Linked DNA regions of Homo sapiens: region 2 is linked to region 1. The links are contacts of gene promoters, found by promoter capture Hi-C in blood cells and fetal thymus (Javierre and others, 2016). All regions are on one chromosome and are shown on one strand. Each heading gives the region's core, a stretch centred on a gene start or on the middle of the fragment in contact. The rest is flanking DNA. Distances are from core to core; before and after follow the strand shown.

Region 1 (4,315 bases), core at 711-3,210:
ATGATTAATAGAGGGAGTCTCCCACCTCCTGGGACTACCCCATCTTTGACTCCTTTCTAGTCTAGGCGTTAGAGCACAATAGTCCAACATCAGTAAAAGCAAAGCATGAGTGGCTATTGTCCCCTTACACTTCCTGTTACCATCTATGAATGATAAAAGAGCCCAGGAGGAAAGCACAACTTAGCTTAAAAAATAGGCTTGCCGGCTGGGCATGGTGGCTTATGCCTGTAATCCCAGTGCTTTGGGAGGCAAAGGCAGGAGGATCACTAGAGGCTAGGAGTTCAAGATAAGCCTGGGCAGTATATCAGGACCCTTTCTCTACAAATAAATAAATAACTAAATAAAAAATAAAAATAAAAATATAATATAAAAAAAGAAAGCCAGATGTAGTGGCTCTTGCCTGTAGTCCCAGCTATTCAGGAGGTTGAGGTGGGAGGATTGCTTGAGCCCAGGCATTTGAGGTTACACTGAGCTATGATCACACCACTGCATTCTAGCCTTGGCAACACAGTGAGAGCCTGTCTCTTAAAAAAAGAAAAAAATTCTTTCCAGTGCAGAACTGTAGGAATCCATGGCATGGTAAATTTGGCATTTGTGGTAGGGCAGGATTTATACTTGCACAGACTGGCATTAGCTCCAAACATTAGAGGAAGGTTGGAAAGAAGCAATGCCAGGCAGACCAACTGGGCTGTGTGGAAGTGAAGCTATCAGGCATACCAGTGACTTTAGTGTGTAGCCAAAAGCAATAGACACTGAATCGTGGTGGTGACTTATGGTCCATGAATCACAGGAGAAATGTCTCCCTTCATTTATTCCACAACCATTGATTGAGCACCTACTATATTCCCTGAAAGAGAACATAAACATGAATTGAAGAAGGTTCTTGCTGTCTCATGGCTCCCAAGCTAGAAGAGGGCTGACTTGTAAATGCCTCACAGCAGGGTTCATGTTATATGGAGAAGTGACGAAGGTGCCAGAAGACTCAAGCTAGGGGACAGCCATTAGCTGCTGGAGGCAGCTAAGGTGGGTTCCCAGAGAAGCCATTCTCCGTTACTGAGATGGGGGCTGCAGTGACCTTGACCACAGCTCTTCCATTCATGGACTGCCCCAGCTCTGTGGTCTCTCTGCTAACCAGCCAGACTCTGGGAGTGGCCTATGCCGTCAGCCTCAGGGCCATTTAAACCAACTGGTCATTGGCAGTGATTGTGCGAAAGAGTGGCTGGCGGCAAAGGAGGGTTTGTGTTCCATTCAAATACCCTCAAAAAGCCTGAAAAATAAGTAGAGATTGAGGCCAGGCCTTGGAGTTGTGGAAGGTGGAGAACACTGGGAAGCCAACCTCCAAAGAAGACCAGGTTGGAGGCAAAGGAGGAAGGGGAGCTCTCGTTGGCAAACCAACAGGGAAGCCAAGGATATCCCAGTAACTGCTCTCACATCCTTGATGAGAATGCCTTGAATCCGAGCTAGGCCACCTCAAAGAAGCCTGCAAAATAAGTAGAGATTGAGTGCCTGCTGTTCAAACACAACTCAAGCGCAGTCCTCCTCCTCTTTCCCACTGGATTGCCCCCAAGTCCCTCCTATGGGGGACTCCTTCTGAAGTCTCTGCTGTAAGTCAAATCCTTCGCCCTTTATACTTGGTCAGGAAGTTGCAAGCTTCCACAGGTGATATACTAGGGAATTTAGGAATAAACAAATGGAAATAAATTCAAGAAAAGGAAAATAATAAAAATGATCATCCATAGAGTGGAGAATTCAGATAATGGACCCTCAACCCCAGCTTCACACCTGGGACCCCCACTTGGTCATATGGACCCTGGCAGTCTCTAATCACAAGTCTGTGATCCCTTGACTTAAACTGTTCTTCCCCAAATGTAGACATGGGTGGGGCTCAGAAGGGAGGTGTCATCTGATGTGGTTTCCTTATTTCCGTTTATTCATCAAGTGCCCTCTAGCTGTTAAGTCACTCTGATCTCTGACTGCAGCTCCTACTGTTGGACACACCTGGCCGGTGCTTCAGGTAGGAAGCCACCTCTGTTTGCTAGGACTTTCTGTGGGGTAGGGCTGCTTGGCTTGACTTTATTTTGGAAAATGTATTCATTTCTGTGGGAGCTGAGGATTTCTGCTGCCCGCTTCCTCTCTTGTGACCACCACTCATACATGGAGTTAGCAGGTGAAGAGGACAGCCTCCTCATCCCCTCTTTTTATACCTTGCCCTTTTGTGGGAAGAGGCTGACCATTCCCCAATTTGATGTTTATTGCTTCACCTTAAGACTTTGTCTTCAGTGAAAATGCAAATACTGGTAGGGAGGGAACACACTAAAATGTGTGGATCTGAGTGGACTCATCATACACCCTCAGGCCTGGCAGCAAATGAGAGGTGGATGATTCTGTCTTCCTCGATTTGCAGATGAGAAGACTGAAATCTATAGGGGTACGAGACCCCACTCAAGGTCATGAGACTTATTTATTTATTTATTTATTTATTTTGAGATGGAGTCTCACTCTGTCGCCTAGGCTGTAGTACTGTGGCACGATCTCGGCTCACTGCAACCTCCATTTCCCGGGTTCAAGTGATTCTCCTGCCTCAGCCTCCTGAGTAGTTGGGATTACAGGTGCACGCCACCACACCCAGCTAATTTTTTTGTATTTTTAGTAGAGACGGGGTTTCATCATTTTGGTCAGGCTGGTCTCGAACTCCTGACTTCATGATCTGCCTGCCTTGGCCTCCCAAAGGGCTGGGATTACACACGAAACTTATTAATGGTAGAATCAGGATGGAATGAAGACTGGATGCTAGGTGTCTTTACAACCAACCTCGGTGACTTTCCAAAGGCTTTCAGACTTCTCTGGAGAGTCCTGGAGCTTTGAGGGGCTCTTTAGGGGCCATCTGGGTTCGGAGATTAGCACACTCTGCCCCACAGTGGCTCAGCTTTTATCTGCTTCACATACTGGGCTTCTGGGAAGATCTTATTTCAGTAAACTATTTCACAATAGGAAATATATTTGAAAACTCTTGAATGATTCTGTGGATTTTTTCAGGGGTGGAGGGTTTCAGGGACCAAGATGGAGACTTTATCTTCTCAAATACTTAAAACTCCTTTAGACAGAGGAACAAAATATGTGCTCCTCATTTAAAGAAGGCTTAAAATATACAGTTTAATGCAATGTGTTGTTATCACTTCCTTCCCCCAGTAGATTTTAAGGAGGGTAAACAAGAATCAGGGAGAACATAGGAATAGAAATAGTAGAAGGGGACACCTGGGAACAGGTTTGCCTTCTTGCATTTTGCTTAATGCTGGCCCTTCCCTGAATGTCTAAGACCAACCTGGTCCCCACATCCAAATGCACAGACACAGCTGAGGATGGAGAAGGCTAAAGAGGGACAGAGGTAGAGACATAGGCTGAGAGGAGGCAGTTGTAGGTTGAGCTAGGGCTAAGGTGTTTTCCCCATATTCCATCTTACCCCACACTCAGGCCAGGCCTTAGAGTTGTGGAAGGTGGAGAACACTGGGAAGCCAACCTCCGAAGAAGACCAGGTTGGAGTCAAAGGAGGAAGGAGAGCTCTCATTGCCAAACCAACAGGGAAGCCAAGGATATCCCAGTAACTGCTCTCACATCATTGATGAGAATGCCTTGAATCCGAGCTACTAAATCACATTTCCTTCCTTCTAACCTTCCAGTTAGATCAAACCATTGCTGAAACTGAAGAGGACATGTCAAATATTACAGATCCACAGATGTGGGATTTTGATGATCTAAATTTCACTGGCATGCCACCTGCAGATGAAGATTACAGCCCCTGTATGCTAGAAACTGAGACACTCAACAAGTATGTTGTGATCATCGCCTATGCCCTAGTGTTCCTGCTGAGCCTGCTGGGAAACTCCCTGGTGATGCTGGTCATCTTATACAGCAGGGTCGGCCGCTCCGTCACTGATGTCTACCTGCTGAACCTGGCCTTGGCCGACCTACTCTTTGCCCTGACCTTGCCCATCTGGGCCGCCTCCAAGGTGAATGGCTGGATTTTTGGCACATTCCTGTGCAAGGTGGTCTCACTCCTGAAGGAAGTCAACTTCTACAGTGGCATCCTGCTGTTGGCCTGCATCAGTGTGGACCGTTACCTGGCCATTGTCCATGCCACACGCACACTGACCCAGAAGCGTCACTTGGTCAAGTTTGTTTGTCTTGGCTGCTGGGGACTGTCTATGAATCTGTCCCTGCCCTTCTTCCTTTTCCGCCAGGCTTACCATCCAAACAATTCCAGTCCAGTTTGCTATGAGGTCCTGGGAAATGACACAGCAAAATGGCGGATGGTGTT
Region 2 (3,915 bases), core at 1,252-3,751, 320 kb before region 1:
TTTTTTTTTTTTTTTTTTGCTATGGACTAAAGAATTCCCAGGTACATTTAATTGCTTTTCAATTTTTCTTTTTAAAGTTCATACAAATATTACTGAATAAATGAAGGTTACCAGAATGGATTGGTAAAGAGGGTCAGGAAAGCTGAAATGTGCAGAGTGTAAGAGGGCAGAGAGCTAGAATGCTTTTGCATAAGAAAGGTGACCAGGTGTGATAGCTCACGCCTGTAATCCTAGCACTTTGGGAGGCTGAGGTAGGAGGATCACTTGAGTCCAGGAGTTCAAGACCAGCCTGGGTAACGTAGGGAAACCCCATCTCTACAAAAGAAAGAAATATATATTTAAAGGAAGGAAGGAAAAGCGTTTGAAATATTGAAGAGAAAAAGGGTCTTGAGAGTTCCAAGAAAATGGCAACAGAGGATACAGCTGCTGAGACTTTGGAATAATTATAAGAACTAGCTAGTCAATTTTTAATTCAGTAATGTGTAATATTCAGTTATATTTTGTTGCCCTGTGTTGTGCTGTAGTCTTTTTCTGTTATCCCATACTTTCAGTAAAAACCTGCTATAGACACATACACACATGTATATAAGAATAAAACAGGGAGTAATTTTTTGCAGTTTGTGCGTTCCTTCATTCTAAGGATCTTATAAATTAGTAAATTTCCTGTAATCATAAGATAAATTTTCTGATATAGGAATGAAATTAACTTATATTGTATCTGCTCTGTATAAACATAAAACTGAAGTAGTTACAAAAAATTATTATGTGGTTACAGGACAGCTTTTAGTTCTTTCCAAGAATAGATCGCAAACACCAAGGTTGTTATTAACATTAAGTATTTATGTAGCACTTTGCCTACAGAGTGCTTTACTTTCTTTTATTAGCTTCAATATTCTGTCAGTAAGTGTGGAATTTCTGGAACCTAGCCCCTAGAGACTAGTTCTTTTACATTTCATAATCTACTCCTTTCTAGAAAATGGGAGTTGGTTTTTTTTTTTGGTTGTTTGTTGTTGTTGTTGTTGTTGTTGTTTTGATACAGAGTCTTGCTCTGTCCCCCAGGCTAGAGTGCAGTGGCACGATCTCAGCTCACCGCAACCTCTGCCTCACGGGTTCAAGCGATTCTCCTGCCTCAGCCTCCCGAGTAGCTGGGATTACAGCTGTATGCCACCACACCTGGCTAATTTTTGTATTTTTAGTAGAGACGGGGTTTTGCCATGTTGACCAGGTTGGTCTTGAACTCCTGACCTCAGGTGATCCACCTGCCTTGGCCTCCCAAAGTGCTGGGATTATAGGCATAAGCCACCGCGCCGGGCCAAGGAAGTTGGTTTTAAAGAAATGACTTTATAAAGGCTGGGTGTGGTGGTTCACGCCTGTAATCTCAACATTTTGAGAAGCCAAGGTGGAAGGTTTGCTTGAGACCAAGAGTTCAAGACCAGCCTGGGCAACATGGTGAGACCCCCATCTCTACAAAAAATGTTGTGTTTTTTGTTTTTTTCAAACAGAGTCTCGTTCTGTTGCCCAGGCTGGAATGCGGTGGCATGATCTCGGCTCACTGCAACCCCCGCCTCCTGGGTTCAAGCGATTCTCCTGCCTCAGCCTCCTGAGTAGCTGGGATTACAGGAACGCGCCACCACGCCTGGCTAATTTTTGTGTTTTTGGTAGAGACAGGGTCGCGCCGTGTTGGCCAGGCTGGTCTCAAACTCCTGACCTCAGGTGATGTGGCCGCCTCGGCCTCCTCAAGTGTATAAATCATAGCAGTATTATTATATTGACTTAAGAGACTTATATTTTTGGATTAAGAGAATTTGTTCTTTCCTGTTTGTGAGTGGTTTGAGGCCAGGAAGGTGGGAGGAAGAATCTTAAGGCAAAGAATTGGTTGTTACCAGCTGTCACTAAGGAAATTATGTGTACAGTTAAAAAGACTAGTTTTGACCTCACATGCTGGATGTCTTTTCTCTTTCCCATTCTCTTGCTATTTGGTTTTTCAAGTGGGGGGAAAAAAATGCTAAGGGGAATTTTTCTCCTTGTTTTTCTTTCTTTTTTTTCTTTTTTTTTTTTTTCCTGGTAGATCACTTGTGTTAAAGGTTAATTTATTCCAGACTTATGTGATAGAAGCTTCTGTTTGTCAAATCCTAATATTAGTTTTGTTCTACTTTTGTTCAATTTAATATTCAAAGCCACTCTTTAAATCCTAATGATTAGTCTTGTTCTACTTTTGTTCAGTTTAATATTCAAAGCCACTCTTATTCTTGAAGAGCCTGATGCCATTATCAAATCTGTTCACAAAGTTGGGCCTCATCTTTGAAGATCAGTGATTTTGACTATCATTTTCCTGTTTTATATTACCTTCCCCCCCACCTTTTACTGCTCCATGCATAGCAGGGCTACACTATAGGCAGTGTGTCCAGAGTAGCCTCATATTACCTTTTATTTTGGTTAGGTTATTTGAAATTCTAGTTAAAATATTTAATTTTGACATTGGTTTCATATCAGTTGTGTCCTTGTATTCTCTCAAATTGTATATTTGAAGATCCTGAGTTCTAGCACGCTTTTTAAAGAGAACTACAATCTATAACTTCAGTTTGCAAATTTTTGTTTGTGGCTTCTGTGATGAAGGCATATATGGTAAGAATCAGTTTTTTATAGATCATTTTTGTGTGTGTGCCTAGAACTGAAGTTTATTCCCATAAGATGTTTGAAATTCAATTTTTAAAGTGTTCTTGTGGGTTGAGAAATATATTTAATCCATCAAGCAGAGATCGTGTTCTGTGTGAGAAGTGAAAAGGTTACCACAATTTTAACCACAAAGAATTCAGTGCTTCTAAAGAGCTAAAAGCCTTTACAGACCCACAGATCAGATTTGGCATGCAAATTTTTGTAAAGCTTTTTTCTAAATGGGGAAAAGTTTTGTATTTCCTCCTTAGCTTTCTACAGAGAAAGTACTTCTGAAAATAAAAGAATAATTCTCATCAAAAATCATCTTGAAGTAATTAATGTTTACCATCAAATATAAGAGCTATGTAACATTTTAATAGACATTATTTTACTAGTAGTGGTTATATAAAACCTATTGCTTTTTAAACTATGTAACAGTGAAGTAAATAATTTAAGGATTTAACCCAATATCAGTGCCAAATTTAACATTCTTGTCTGCTATATTTTATTTATTTGTGTTTTTTCTAGGAACATTATAAGTATTTTACCCAAACCACACTAATCCACCATTATTTGTATGCTTTTTACCTAGCCCAATGCCTGGCACTAACAGGTATTCAGTAAATATTCTTTGACGTGTCTTTGGTTTGGCCAAATGGATTTTTTAAATCAAAAGTCGTCTAACATAGAGTGATCTCTTTTACTGTAAGAAAGATACATGTATTATGTATGAATTAGTAAGGTTGTCATCTCCTGTTTTTCAGGGTCCTCATTCTCCATTTGAAACGATATAGCTTCAATGTGGCTCTCTCGCTTAACAATAAGATTGGGCAGCAAGTCATCATTCCAAGATACCTGACCCTGTCATCTCATTGCACTGAAAATACAAAACCACCTTTTACCCTTGGTTGGAGTGCACATATGGCAATGTAAGTCCTTGAGAGACTATGTCTTTATATTCCCTTTTGAAATAGAAAGGCTTTAGTATCTAATCAAAAGAATGACTGAATTACATAATATGACTCCAAGGTAAAATCAGATCAATGGCCAGATGCAGTGGCTCATGCCTGTAATCCCAGCACTTTGGGAGGCTGAGGCAGGAGAATCGCTTGAGCCTAGGAGTTTGAAACCACCTATGGCAACAGAGCATGACCTCATCTCTACAAAAAATAAAATAATAAAGCCAGCATGGTGGCACACACCTGTAGTGCCAGCTACTCGAGGCTGAGGTGGGAGGATTGCTGGAGCCTGGGAGATGAA

What was found. The method cuts DNA at HindIII sites, captures the fragments that hold promoters and counts their contacts. A CHiCAGO score of 5 or more calls a contact.
Region 2: a fragment that was not itself captured here is called in contact with the fragment with the promoter of CXCR1 in region 1 in 2 of 17 cell types (neutrophils and total CD8 T cells); the score reaches 5.3 in neutrophils.

What each region holds. Positions count from the first base shown.
Region 1 is chr2:218,164,607-218,168,921 of GRCh38, reverse strand. CXCR1 (C-X-C motif chemokine receptor 1) reads left to right here and starts at 1,960. Exons shown (of 2, transcript NM_000634.3): 1 at 1,960-2,014; 2 at 3,678-4,315. The coding sequence starts at 3,711. The HindIII fragment of the contact is 3,933 bases long and covers 1,653-4,315 here.
Region 2 is chr2:218,481,739-218,485,653 of GRCh38, reverse strand. USP37 (ubiquitin specific peptidase 37) reads left to right here. Exons shown (of 26, transcript NM_020935.3): 17 at 3,420-3,584. Among named protein-coding and RNA genes, the nearest start is that of VIL1, 65 kb to the right of the region's middle. The HindIII fragment of the contact is 768 bases long and covers 2,118-2,885 here.